Linked DNA regions of Homo sapiens: regions 2, 3 and 4 are each linked to region 1. The links are contacts of gene promoters, found by promoter capture Hi-C in blood cells and fetal thymus (Javierre and others, 2016). All regions are on one chromosome and are shown on one strand. Each heading gives the region's core, a stretch centred on a gene start or on the middle of the fragment in contact. The rest is flanking DNA. Distances are from core to core; before and after follow the strand shown. Region 1 holds the start of ARL15 (ARF like GTPase 15). Region 2 has its middle 100 kb from the start of LINC02998. Region 3 has its middle 110 kb from the start of ESM1. Region 4 has its middle 86 kb from the start of ESM1.

The links. Contacts are between HindIII fragments. The CHiCAGO score rates a contact against its expected background, and 5 or more counts as called.
Region 2: a fragment that was not itself captured here is called in contact with the fragment with the promoter of ARL15 in region 1 in 2 of 17 cell types (neutrophils and total B cells); the score reaches 5.4 in neutrophils.
Region 3: a contact is called between a fragment that was not itself captured here and the fragment with the promoter of ARL15 in region 1, in 4 of 17 cell types (total B cells, naive CD8 T cells, monocytes and 1 more). The highest score is 11.6, in total B cells.
Region 4: a contact is called between a fragment that was not itself captured here and the fragment with the promoter of ARL15 in region 1, in 2 of 17 cell types (M2 macrophages and M1 macrophages). The highest score is 6.6, in M2 macrophages.

What each region holds. Positions count from the first base shown.
Region 1 is chr5:54,309,143-54,311,842 of GRCh38, forward strand. ARL15 (ARF like GTPase 15) reads right to left here and starts at 1,431. Exons shown (of 5, transcript NM_019087.3): 1 at 1,290-1,431. The coding sequence starts at 1,337. The HindIII fragment of the contact is 4,353 bases long and covers 1-2,700 here.
Region 2 is chr5:54,844,307-54,847,006 of GRCh38, forward strand. It overlaps the pseudogene CSPG4BP. Among named protein-coding and RNA genes, the nearest start is that of LINC02998, 100 kb to the left of the region's middle. The HindIII fragment of the contact is 9,684 bases long and covers 1-2,700 here.
Region 3 is chr5:54,870,782-54,873,546 of GRCh38, forward strand. It overlaps the pseudogene CSPG4BP. Among named protein-coding and RNA genes, the nearest start is that of ESM1, 110 kb to the right of the region's middle. The HindIII fragment of the contact is 2,048 bases long and covers 394-2,441 here.
Region 4 is chr5:54,898,204-54,900,903 of GRCh38, forward strand. No RefSeq gene overlaps it. Among named protein-coding and RNA genes, the nearest start is that of ESM1, 86 kb to the right of the region's middle. RefSeq lists a silencer at 1,469-1,626. The HindIII fragment of the contact is 5,239 bases long and covers 1-2,700 here.

The DNA.
Region 1 (2,700 bases), core at 181-2,680:
CCCTTTATCACAAAGATAAAGGAAGTTACTGCCATCAACAAATGAACAACAAAACAGAACTTGAATTCAGAATTTTAGATCCAGCTCCATTCACAAGGCTATGCATTAACTGCAGTCACCATCCTTTCCCACAAGACCATCAAGCTCTGAAGCATTAGGAGAAACATTTTCTTTATGTACACTAAAATAAGCCCAAATACACAGATAACAGCACAAAGCCGGTCCGGCGTTTCTTGGCCATCAAAGCATGCACAGACTTTCTCAGTACAGCCTTAAGTGTAATTCCTAGAAGGCACTGGCAAATCTCTGCCAGGCCAATCTGCAGTCGAAAACCGAGTGCATGTGTCCAACAAGATGACAGGAGGGTCAATGTTTCTAACCGTCTACTTCAACTCTGCATGGCAATAGCGGTTCTGCCCAACATGGTAAACACAATAATCGTATAGGATCGAACACAAGTCTCTGTAAATGAGGATCCCCTTAAACGCAAACAAGCAACTCTGGGGAAATATAATTTCTGGAACAAAACATGGTGCTCGCATAATTCCACAAAGACACATAGAAGTCCATTTTTAAAATGATGTTCGGTCCCAGCACTGTGCTGACACTTTTCCCACCTAAACTTCTCAGCACAAGCCTGGCCTAAACAGCCGGGTTCCAATCCGTGCACAGTGGAACCGCGGCACGCACCCAAGACCGGAATGGTGGGGCTATACCTGTCCCTACTCAGTCCTGTTCGTGCCAGCCTGCGAGGTAGTTTAGACCCGTCTGCTTTATGGTAATGTGCTTTTAAAACCCCGCCACGACCGAGGTCATAGCTTTAGAGATTTAATAACAATCAAATGACCAGGGCTGCTGGGCACTTAGTGAGCCATTCTGGTTATGGCTCTTTAATAGCACCTGGAGTTCTGCTCCAGGGAGAGAGGAAAACTCCTGCTCCCCCGGAAAGAAAGTCCTCTGCGGAGAGCGCAGAGGGAAGCCAGGAAGCCGATCGCGGGCAGGGGACGCGCCGCCGCGGCCGCCCCATCTCTCAAGCAGCCCCAGCGCGACCCTCGCCCTGCAGCCGTGCTGGCCCAGGCCGCACCTTTACCTGTCAGCTCCACCACCCACCCGCCCTGGAGGCTGCCCCTCCGAGTCCAGGGAAAGGCTTACCAGCCGGCTGCGGGAGAAAGAACCCCAGAGGCATCCTATCCCAAAGAAAGAAAGCAAAAAGGCTGCTCCTCAAGGCAGGGGGCCATCGGGCACGCCGAGATCCGAGAGGCGACATGCCACCCCTGCCCTGCACCTACCAGATAATCCATGTACAGAAACGCCTCAGTTATTCGGAGATCAGACATCCGGCAGCCTAAAGCATCCGGAACGGCTCCGAACCCGGAAAAAAAAAGCAGCGTCTCTGGCTGCGAGCGAGCAGCTCCTGAAAAAGCCAGCAACAGCGAAAATAGCCGAAAGCAGCCGACTAGCCGGAGATTACACAAGGGGCGCGGCGATTGGCCAGGCGGGCGGGCAGAAGGAAAGAAGCGTGCTCATTGGCTGCGGCGCCTATAAAAGGCAGGCCCCAGCTGGTGGCAGGAGAGAAACGCGGGAGTGGTGGGGGATGTGGGTTCCTGTGTGCTGAGCGGAGGAGCCGGGGTGGGGGCGGTGCAAGCGGAAGAAAGAGCCAAGAGAGCGGAAAATCGGCTGGTGCTGTCGCCGCCCGAGTTTTGTGTTTCCACAGCTTTCCAGTTGGGTACAACGGAGCCGAACTCCGTGTTCCCGGGCTGGAGAGCCTTGGTGTCCCCGCCAACCCCCAGTAGGAAGCGAGCGCTGTAACATGGGAGGCGTGGTCGCCACTGATCTTGTCTCCCCCCAGAGCCTTCCTAAAGGCTCTGCCGCCACGAGACTGCACCACCGGGAAAGAAGTGTGTGAAAGTGTACTCCGTAAACAGGCAATCCTGTACGCGACTTAGGGGCAGAAAGACCCTCCGCACTTTTATCATTTGAAAGTAAGGTGGACGATTCCAGCCTGGTGTCCCTGAGGGTACACACAGGCCCCCCGCGCAGCCAGAGGTGACTCAGGAACCCCCCTTCCAACCCCTGCGTAGAACGCCGAACAGTCTTCGGAGAATTCGCTTTCCTCCACGTGAAAAGGAAAAGAAAAACATTTGAGGAGTCGCAGTAGTCACTTGTACTCCCCAAACACACGGGAAGAAGTTGATCAGTTTGCATGCTTGGAGTCAAATTACGCTCAGCACAAATCCAACGCCCCTGAATTAAATGAGCAGTAGAAGCTCTCTGCAAAAAACACAACAGTATTTGTGACCCGGTATTATTTCAGGAGGTAAAAACATCTATAAGCAGATGCATTTGGGACGTATGCATTTCCTGGTAATGTCAATATCGCATTAAGCTAGTGGGTTTGGGCAGGGAAAGCCTGAATCGGACAAGAAGCTGGCTTTTTTTTTTTTTAGGCTATAAATAACCAGACCATGCCAGACACATGTTCTTAGGCTATGTTCTTAGGCTCAGGTGATTGGAGTGCCCCCCCCCCCATCCCCACCCTCAGGGCTTAGGGAGAATGGAAGATAAGGTGGATGCTGTCACCTGTATTAATAGTTAGGGCTTGCATACATACAGTAAAGTTTCAAGAGTGAAACTTCATCGACTGAACTCTTTATGAAGTGACTGCCTGACTCTACACGCGATGTTTTAGGAGTTGAATTT
Region 2 (2,700 bases), core at 200-2,699, 540 kb after region 1:
GGACTGTTTAACAAAATTCCAAGCCCACTCATTCTGGTTTTTCACTTTTTACATTTTTTAATCCATCCACATATCTCATCCTCATTTCTTCTAGAGCTCCAGCTGACTTGGAAATGTGCTGCCATTTCTCTTCTCGTGACTTGTAGAAACAATCATTTTTTCCAAGGCCATACACACCAAGGCTGGACAAAGCATGTTTTCCACTGCAGCTACTCTGCTATGGAACACTGCTTTCCCTCCCTCTCGCCTCTGAAATATACCATCTTCCAAAACAAATGGAAAACCTGCCACTCAAAACAAGATCTAGTAGCCTCAGGTCTCATTTCCACTCAAACCAAATTTAGTTCAATTAACGACCCCATTGCTTCAGGTAAGGCCTGATTTAGTGCCCAGTGCTTGGTAATGGAAACTTCAGGCAGATGAGGAGAAGGAAAACAAAGACCCCCAATTTGAATTCAGATTTTAAAGTGATCCAAAGCCCAAAAAAGAATAGTTCAAAGCATAAATATCAGAAAATAACACAAACCTGGAATAATAATTTTTAAATTGACCTTTAGCTTTAAGAAGAGTTTAGTGGTATTTAGAAACCTAATTGTGATCCCATTTAATCCTAGTTGTAAACTTAATATTTAAAAGCCCAGACCTTTGGAGGCAGAGGTTGCAGTGAGCCGAGATCGTGCCACTGCACTTCAGCCTGGGTGACAGAGCAAGACTTCGTCTCAAAAACAAACAAACAAACAAACAAACAAAAACAACAAAGCCTAGACCTTTGTTGCGTTTCATACGAGGGATGTGAAATGCTCATGAATTCACTCTCCCACTGTTGGTCCCCCGAGAGCTTCAATTGGCATTTCAAACTTTGCTGCCTTAATTCTTCTACTGTGACCAGCTCTCAAAGCTCCTTTTAGTGATGACAAGTATTTCTCAAAAGCAAGCAAATGGTTCTATTTTCAGTATAAAAACAACAAAACAAAATGTATAGTATTACTGAAAGAGGAACTTGAAAAATAGGAAAATGAAGCCCCCTTGTGGACAAAAATATGTTTTATCAGATATGCACAAAATTCACTGATCATATTTGAATACAAAAATACTCAGTAGAATATATTTCAAAGTAAAATGCAAAGGATTCACCCAAGATGGCCTAACTCCAATTCCCAATTCCAGTTTGTTGGGACACAAATGATCTCTTGTACCATTGAATGACCTTGGAGATCAGCTGAAAGAACTGTGGCTTAAGGAAATGTTTTAATTTGTCAGGAGAAAGAAGTGTGTTTTAAATGGTGGGACACAGAGGTTAACATTCTGATTGCTGGCTATGAACTCCCTCCAGAGTCTGAGATGTTATCAGCAACTCTATCCCCCACGCTCCCACCTTCTTCTCCCACTTAGGCTGCAGACAGACTTTCTTGCCACCTCCTCCAGGCCCAGATGACAAGTAGGGAGAGTGAGTCATCATGCAGGATAATCCGAATGTCTTGAGAACATGCTGTTTGAAAAGTCAGAAACAGCACTGAATCTGAAGACTTTATCACATTTGCATTTGCATAACTGCCTTTGCCCCAGACTCTGCCACTAACTTTGTTATTTTGGGCAAATCGCTTAACCTCTTGATCTTTAATTCCACCTTCTTAAAATTGGAATAAGAGCAATACTCTCTTTATCTGCTTCACCAGGTCCTTGAGCTTCTTCGCTAACTATGAAGGAAGAAGTGAGAGAACACTGTGGTGCCAAACTCAAACTCGCATTCTAGCTCTGCCACTTGCTGTCCACCAGCAGCCCTTCTGCTTTGGACCTTGGAGAAGTGTCAAAGCCTCTCTGCATTGCAGATTTCTCATCTTTAAAATAAAAATCATATCCCAGAGAGTTGTTGAAGATTCACTGGGTAAATGTAAAGCGCATAGAACAATGCCAGGCACTGTAAGTACTATGTAAGTAATAACTATCATTAGGACCATGTAATGGACCATGTAAATGGTTGTTATTATTACTGTTTGATATGCTCTGAAATATAGAAATAAGAAACATCATCATCTGAAATAATCTCCTAAGTTTAAAACTTTGCCTGGAAAGAAGTAACTGGTAACCATAGCTTTGGAGAAACTATGTTATTGAAAACTGCATTCTCGTGGCTCTACTATGTTGATAAAATGCATATGCTATATCTATTAGCTTTCACAAAAAAGTAAACACACCTGATGTGTGAAAATTATTTAATAATGTTAAAGGTTATCAATTTATGAGAACACTCTGCAATTGATCAATACACACAGTCTTTCCAGAAAGTTTCTATGCTCATTTGCCATTGTTATTACACATTCTAGTGGATAAAAGAGATACCACACTCCAATAAAAAATGAGGGGCAGATATTAAAAGGATGTTTTAAGGAATCGCCACACTGACTTCCACAATGGTTGAACTAGTTTACAGTCCCACCAACAGTGTAAAAGTGTTCCTATTTCTCCACATCCTCTCCAGCACCTGTTGTTTCCTGACTTTTTAATGATCGCCATTCTAACTGGTGTGAGATGGTATCTCATTGTGGTTTTGATTTGCATTTCTCTGATGGCCAGTGATGGTGAGCATTCCTCAAGGATCTAGAACTAGAAATACCATTTGACCCAGCCATCCCATTACTGGGTATATATCCAAAGGACTATAAATCTTGCTGCTATAAAGACACATGCGCACGTATGTTT
Region 3 (2,765 bases), core at 168-2,667, 560 kb after region 1:
CATGGTAAAAGCTGTCTCCATTACTTGCTCAGGTGGTACATTTAATTGAAGGAACCCATGAATAGGCCTTCCCTCTATTTTAAATAGTATTTGAGAATGATGGATACCCAAATCCTTAAATTTCACATCCAGTTTCATGTGCCTTTGTTTCAGTAAGGTCCACCTTCTTGGACCTGCAAGTTATTCAAAACCAAGAAATCGCTACTCTCATCTTGAAGAAAAGGCTTGATGACCTCAGGGACGGCAGTGGAAAGGAAAACTTCTGACTGATGCAGATTTTCTATCGCTGTTATGGAAGGATTTGTGTTATCAACACTCTCAGTTTTACAACAACAGGAATATCTTTGAAAACAAGGGCATCCCTTAACGCTCTCTTTTCTGAATTGGCTTCCAAGCTTCTTAAGCACCCTTTGAAAGAGGTTCCTCGAGCAAATTTCCCAGGCACAGAGGCAAGTTCTAACCTCTTTACTTCTTCCCACATTTGGTTATCAAGACCTCCCACAAAAAGGGCTCCTTCAGATACAAATGTTTGCTTTGCAAAGGCAGTGACTTCCTTACCTTTTTTTCATCTACTGTTAGGTCCAGATACTCCCCTGTGAATTTGAATTGAATAACATGCCACTTGTTGTCACTGACAAAACTAAAAGAAGAAAGCTGAGTTTTACTTTTATGCCTTCCTACATAAGCCTTCAATAGACTTTCATCTATTTACAAAGCAACAAAATCTCCTTCCTTACCCAACTGAAATGAAAGCAAGGCTTGCTGAGTTACAGTTTGCAAAGTAAATTCCAATAGTGTTTACCCTTGCACTTTCCATTCTGGAAAACTGACAGAGAATCTGGAGCTAAAGAAATTGATGGCTTCATCCTCCCCTGCAAAAAAAACTCGTCATTGCATCCTAGTGACACCTCATAAACCTTCTTAAAACCAGGGTAAGATCTAAGGGACGTAAGGATCTCCCTCTGGTTAAATACCACATCCTTCATACATCCTCAAAAATTGGGGAGCTTTCCGTACAGATAAGGTACATTGAGTGCCCTGCGGCCTCCTACATAGATTCCATGTTGAAAATTCAAATTATGCATCCCACCAGCTGCCATTTGGCCAGTTGTCTCATAACGTTTGTCAATAACAAAGGAAATATTATGCTTAACATAGCACAGTTCCACCAAATGCCAAACCAGGTCATCCATATGAAGTCTCTGCTCAGAAAGGAGCATTTGTTCACTTGTACCCAAATTTACTCTCACCTGAAAAAGAATCATAATTAATCAATCTCATCTCACTTTTCATTTCATAATGTTTTATTGAGAAAATCGGACCTTTCACAAAAGAAAAAGAAGAGAGAAATTTGCACATGAAAACTCTTCCCATGCTTATAGATTACATACTAAACTCAGGAAATTTTAAAGTTGGAATATTTAAGCCATGCTAGTAAAACCGAAGGAGATCCCAACCTATACAAATGGCACATCATTTTATTCTAATGAAATAACAGCAATCAATACATGTAGCTGTTTTGTTCTCTTTCTCTCTCAACTGCTTTTCTCTCCAGTAATTATATGCTTATATGTATTTTCAAGATTTAAAATCATACACATAAGGTTCCTGATTTAAGTTCTATTATACAATAGTCATTTGTCCCAGCTGCAAGCAAAAGTAATCCCTGTGGTTTGCTGGTATGAAATTTTAATTGAAGAGATAGCTCAGAGGAAACTTCTATGATGTTGAACTCCACATAGCTTTCACCATAAAAAGATGCTAAGAGGAAAATAACAAAAGAAATATATTAGTAAATTTATTATGCAATGACTATTCCACCTTATATTATCATCTCTTTTCAGGGACTGATCCTGGTGAAGAAAGTTGCCTTTCCCAAGGCCTTATCTGCTTCCTGGGGTGACCCAGAGATATGACATGGGTGTATAAAAGGCTCAGTGTTCTCTCACCCCAACTCTGGAAAGCTCTGAACGGTCATTCCCTCTTCACAACTCTCAAGAGAGGTAGCTGAGGTTTCAACTGAGATGAAATTACAATTCAACTCCTCCATCTACCCCAGAATGCTTCTTTCCCCTCCATAGGAGTTGATCCTATGAGCTCTCTCTAATAAACCTCCTGCATGCTAAGTTCCATTTCAGATTCTGCCTCCCCAGAAGCCCAACCTGTGACAATTGGTACTGGAAGTGGTCTGAAAAAGCAGATGATAAGATGAGATTTGCAGCTGGACCAACCACTACTCAAATGGTAATTAGGACACTGTCACTGGTGGTAGGTGAACCACAGAGAGCCCTGGCAATGACTGCAAACTTCACTGGTGGTGAGCTGGCTTGGTGTAAGAGCATAAAGGAATACGTTAGGCCTGGCTATGAAATGCTGAGCTCTTAAAAACAGGGCAAATAAAAAGTAACTATGAAGACAATGGAATTGGGTGCCTATTGCCAAGCTTGAATGAAGCTTTGGAAAAGATAAGGAAAAGCTGGGAAAGATTAGTTGACAATTACAAACTAAGTGTGAAAGCCAGAAGGCCTTCCTGTTAGCAAAGTCCTTCTCATCTTCTATAGCAGGAGGGCAAAAGAAGCTGAGACTCAGACCCAGGAGGTCATCATCAGAGTAGTCAAGCTCCAAGTAAAGTTTTGGGGAATCTAGCCTGCAATATCTGCCTCCCCTCTTTGCTCCTCTGTGCATTTCTTTATCCTAGAACCTGCCAAGTTGTGTTAACATTTCTTATTTATGCATCTATCTCCTGCATTATTCTGTAAGTTTTC
Region 4 (2,700 bases), core at 98-2,597, 590 kb after region 1:
GTCTCTGCTTTGAATGGTGCAAAGGTGATGCACATTCAGTGCACTCCTTAGCTCCCGATGGGGTTGCATCTGGATAAACCCATTGTAAATTGAAAATACCGTAAGTTGAAAACACACTGTTGACTAACAATATTTTCAACTTATGATAGGCTTATGAGGTTCCTGATGGGCTTCTAGGGACATAACCCCATTGTAAAATGAGGAGCATCTGCGTCCTCATGGCTTGTCCCATGCTGCTGTCTCTGCTTAAATGTACTCTAACTGGTGAGGACTCCCATAGTCACCATAGATAACAGCTCCTCCATTCTGCATAAGCTGCTTTTTCTCCACAACATTGATAACCATCTGGTATACATAGATCCTTATTTATAGTTTTCCTTCCCACTCTAATGTAAACTCTATGTGGCAGAGACTTGGTATGGTCACTGAGCAACCCCAATGCCTGCAGCAGTGCTTGGGCCATAATGGGTTTTCAATGACTATCTGTGGAATGAATGAATGAATGAATAAGTGGATACTAAGAGTATTCATGCAATGTCTGTTTTCATGAAATTTTGATAAGCCCTCATGATCAAATTGTGGAGATATTCTAAGAAAATAATTACATCTTGATTCTTTTGAGTAGGTGAATTGCCCCTTTTTTCCCCTCAGAAAAATCTGTTGGGCAGGTAAGCTACACTCAGTAGCTTAAGATGAGTCTCAATCCTGGGACTCAAGTGTTTTAACTCCAAATTCCATCCCATTTCCGTAGCCCAACATGTATCCTTTCCTTTAGCACAGAGAAAGAAGTCTTCTTTTGGAAAGCGTCATTTCCTTTCACTGTCTCCGCTTTCTCACCTCTTTTGGAGTTTAGTCTCTTTTTGACCAACCTCAACCCAGCCTCGTCATCCCTGCACCCGGCATCTTGTTACAGGCACTAGAGTTACTTATTCAGGGCAAACCTCCACTTGCCTCTAGATCCCATTCCCTTCTGCTTCTTCAAGGCGTCTCTCTCTCTCTTTTTCTTTCTCTCCTGCAATCTTCAATATCCCCCTCTCTATTTTTCCAGCTAAAAAGGATATTCTAATCCTAAAAATCCCTTTCCTGATATTATAGTCCCTTCACCATACCTAACTTCCCCCCAACTCTTCTGATCCAACTCTTTGAAGCACATGATGTCCCCTTCTCTTTGCACCCATTCAATCAGGGCAGTATAATTTCTGTTTCCTGCTGAGCTACTGAAGGTAGGATGAGATGAGAGCAGAAAGCGCCAATCACCACACCTGATGGTACTCTCTGTTCTCATCTCGCCCTACATTCAGTAGCATTCAAACTGACTGCTCTTTCCTTGAAATCCTTTCCTTTCTTGGCTTCCATAAAGCAACAGGCTCTGTGTTAACCTCCCACTTCAGTGACTGCACCTGCTTAGTCTCCTCTGCTAGCTCCATGTCCTCTAAGCCATCTCTGCACTCAGAGCTCAGCCCTACCTGCTCTCTTCTTCTCCATCTACAAATTTTTTCCCGCCCCATGGTTTGAAGTACTACATGGAAAGGACTCCCAAATTCATACTTCTGGTTCTGAGGGGCCCCCTGGGTTTCAGCCTTACTTGTGTATCCAAAGCCCTTGTTATGGACCAAATGTCTGGCCTTCTCCCCCACCTCCCTGCCCAAATTCAAATGCTGAAATCCTAACCCTCAATGTGATGGTATTAGGAGTGGGGGCCTTGAGAGGTAATTCGATCTTGAAAATGGAGCCCACATTAATGGGATTAGTTTCCTTATTGGGAGAGACCAGAGAGCTAGCTTCCTCTCTCTGTTCTCTACCATGTGAGGATACGATGAGAAGACAGCTGTCTACAAACCAAGGAGAATGCCCTCACCAGACACTGGATGTGCAGGCACCTTGATCTTGGACTTCCCAGCTTCTAGAACTATGAGAAATAAAATGTTTGTTATTTAAGCCACCCAGTCCATGGGGCCTTATGTTATGACAGCCTGAACTGAATAAGATAGGCCTGCTTGCCATTTTCCCCCAGTTGTCAAATAGTCATCTCAAAATTAATGTGACAAAAATGGAAGCCTTGACTTCTGCTCTGCAAGCCTGGTCCTCCTCTCATCCCCTTCATCTCTGTAATAGCACCACCATCTATCTCATGGTTCAAGTCCAAACCTTACGAATCAACACTCATTCATCTCTTTTCCTTATACCCAAAGTCCTGTTAGCCCTACATCTAAACATGACTCAAATCAATCTGCTTCTCTCCATCTCTGTTGCTGCTCTAATCCAAGTGACCATCGATGCTGTGTTATCTCCCCAGGGTCTGGACCAGCAGCTGACACAGCATGTACTCAATAAGTAGTTGATGAAGAAATGAAGAAATTAATATGAAATTTTTTTCTATTTGAAGTTGTCAGTTTACCATTTTCATAGGAGAGTAATGGAAAGCCAGCCAAACTATTTTACAGCAGAACTCAGAGACCTCAAGGAAAATTTAGAAGTCAGTAAAGTGTGTATCTTAATACCCCCAAATGCCAGTCCTGCTTTTGTTCCCATGGGGACCCTTCTATTCCTCTGCCATCTTCATAATTTCTCAGAGTAAAAACCTACCCTGAAGAAAGGGGCTGGAATTCCTCACACAGAAATATAAATCAATGATAGCCACTTCAACGAGTGTCCTCACAGAGCATTTGGGAGCAAGACTTTACAATGAAGGAAGAAAGT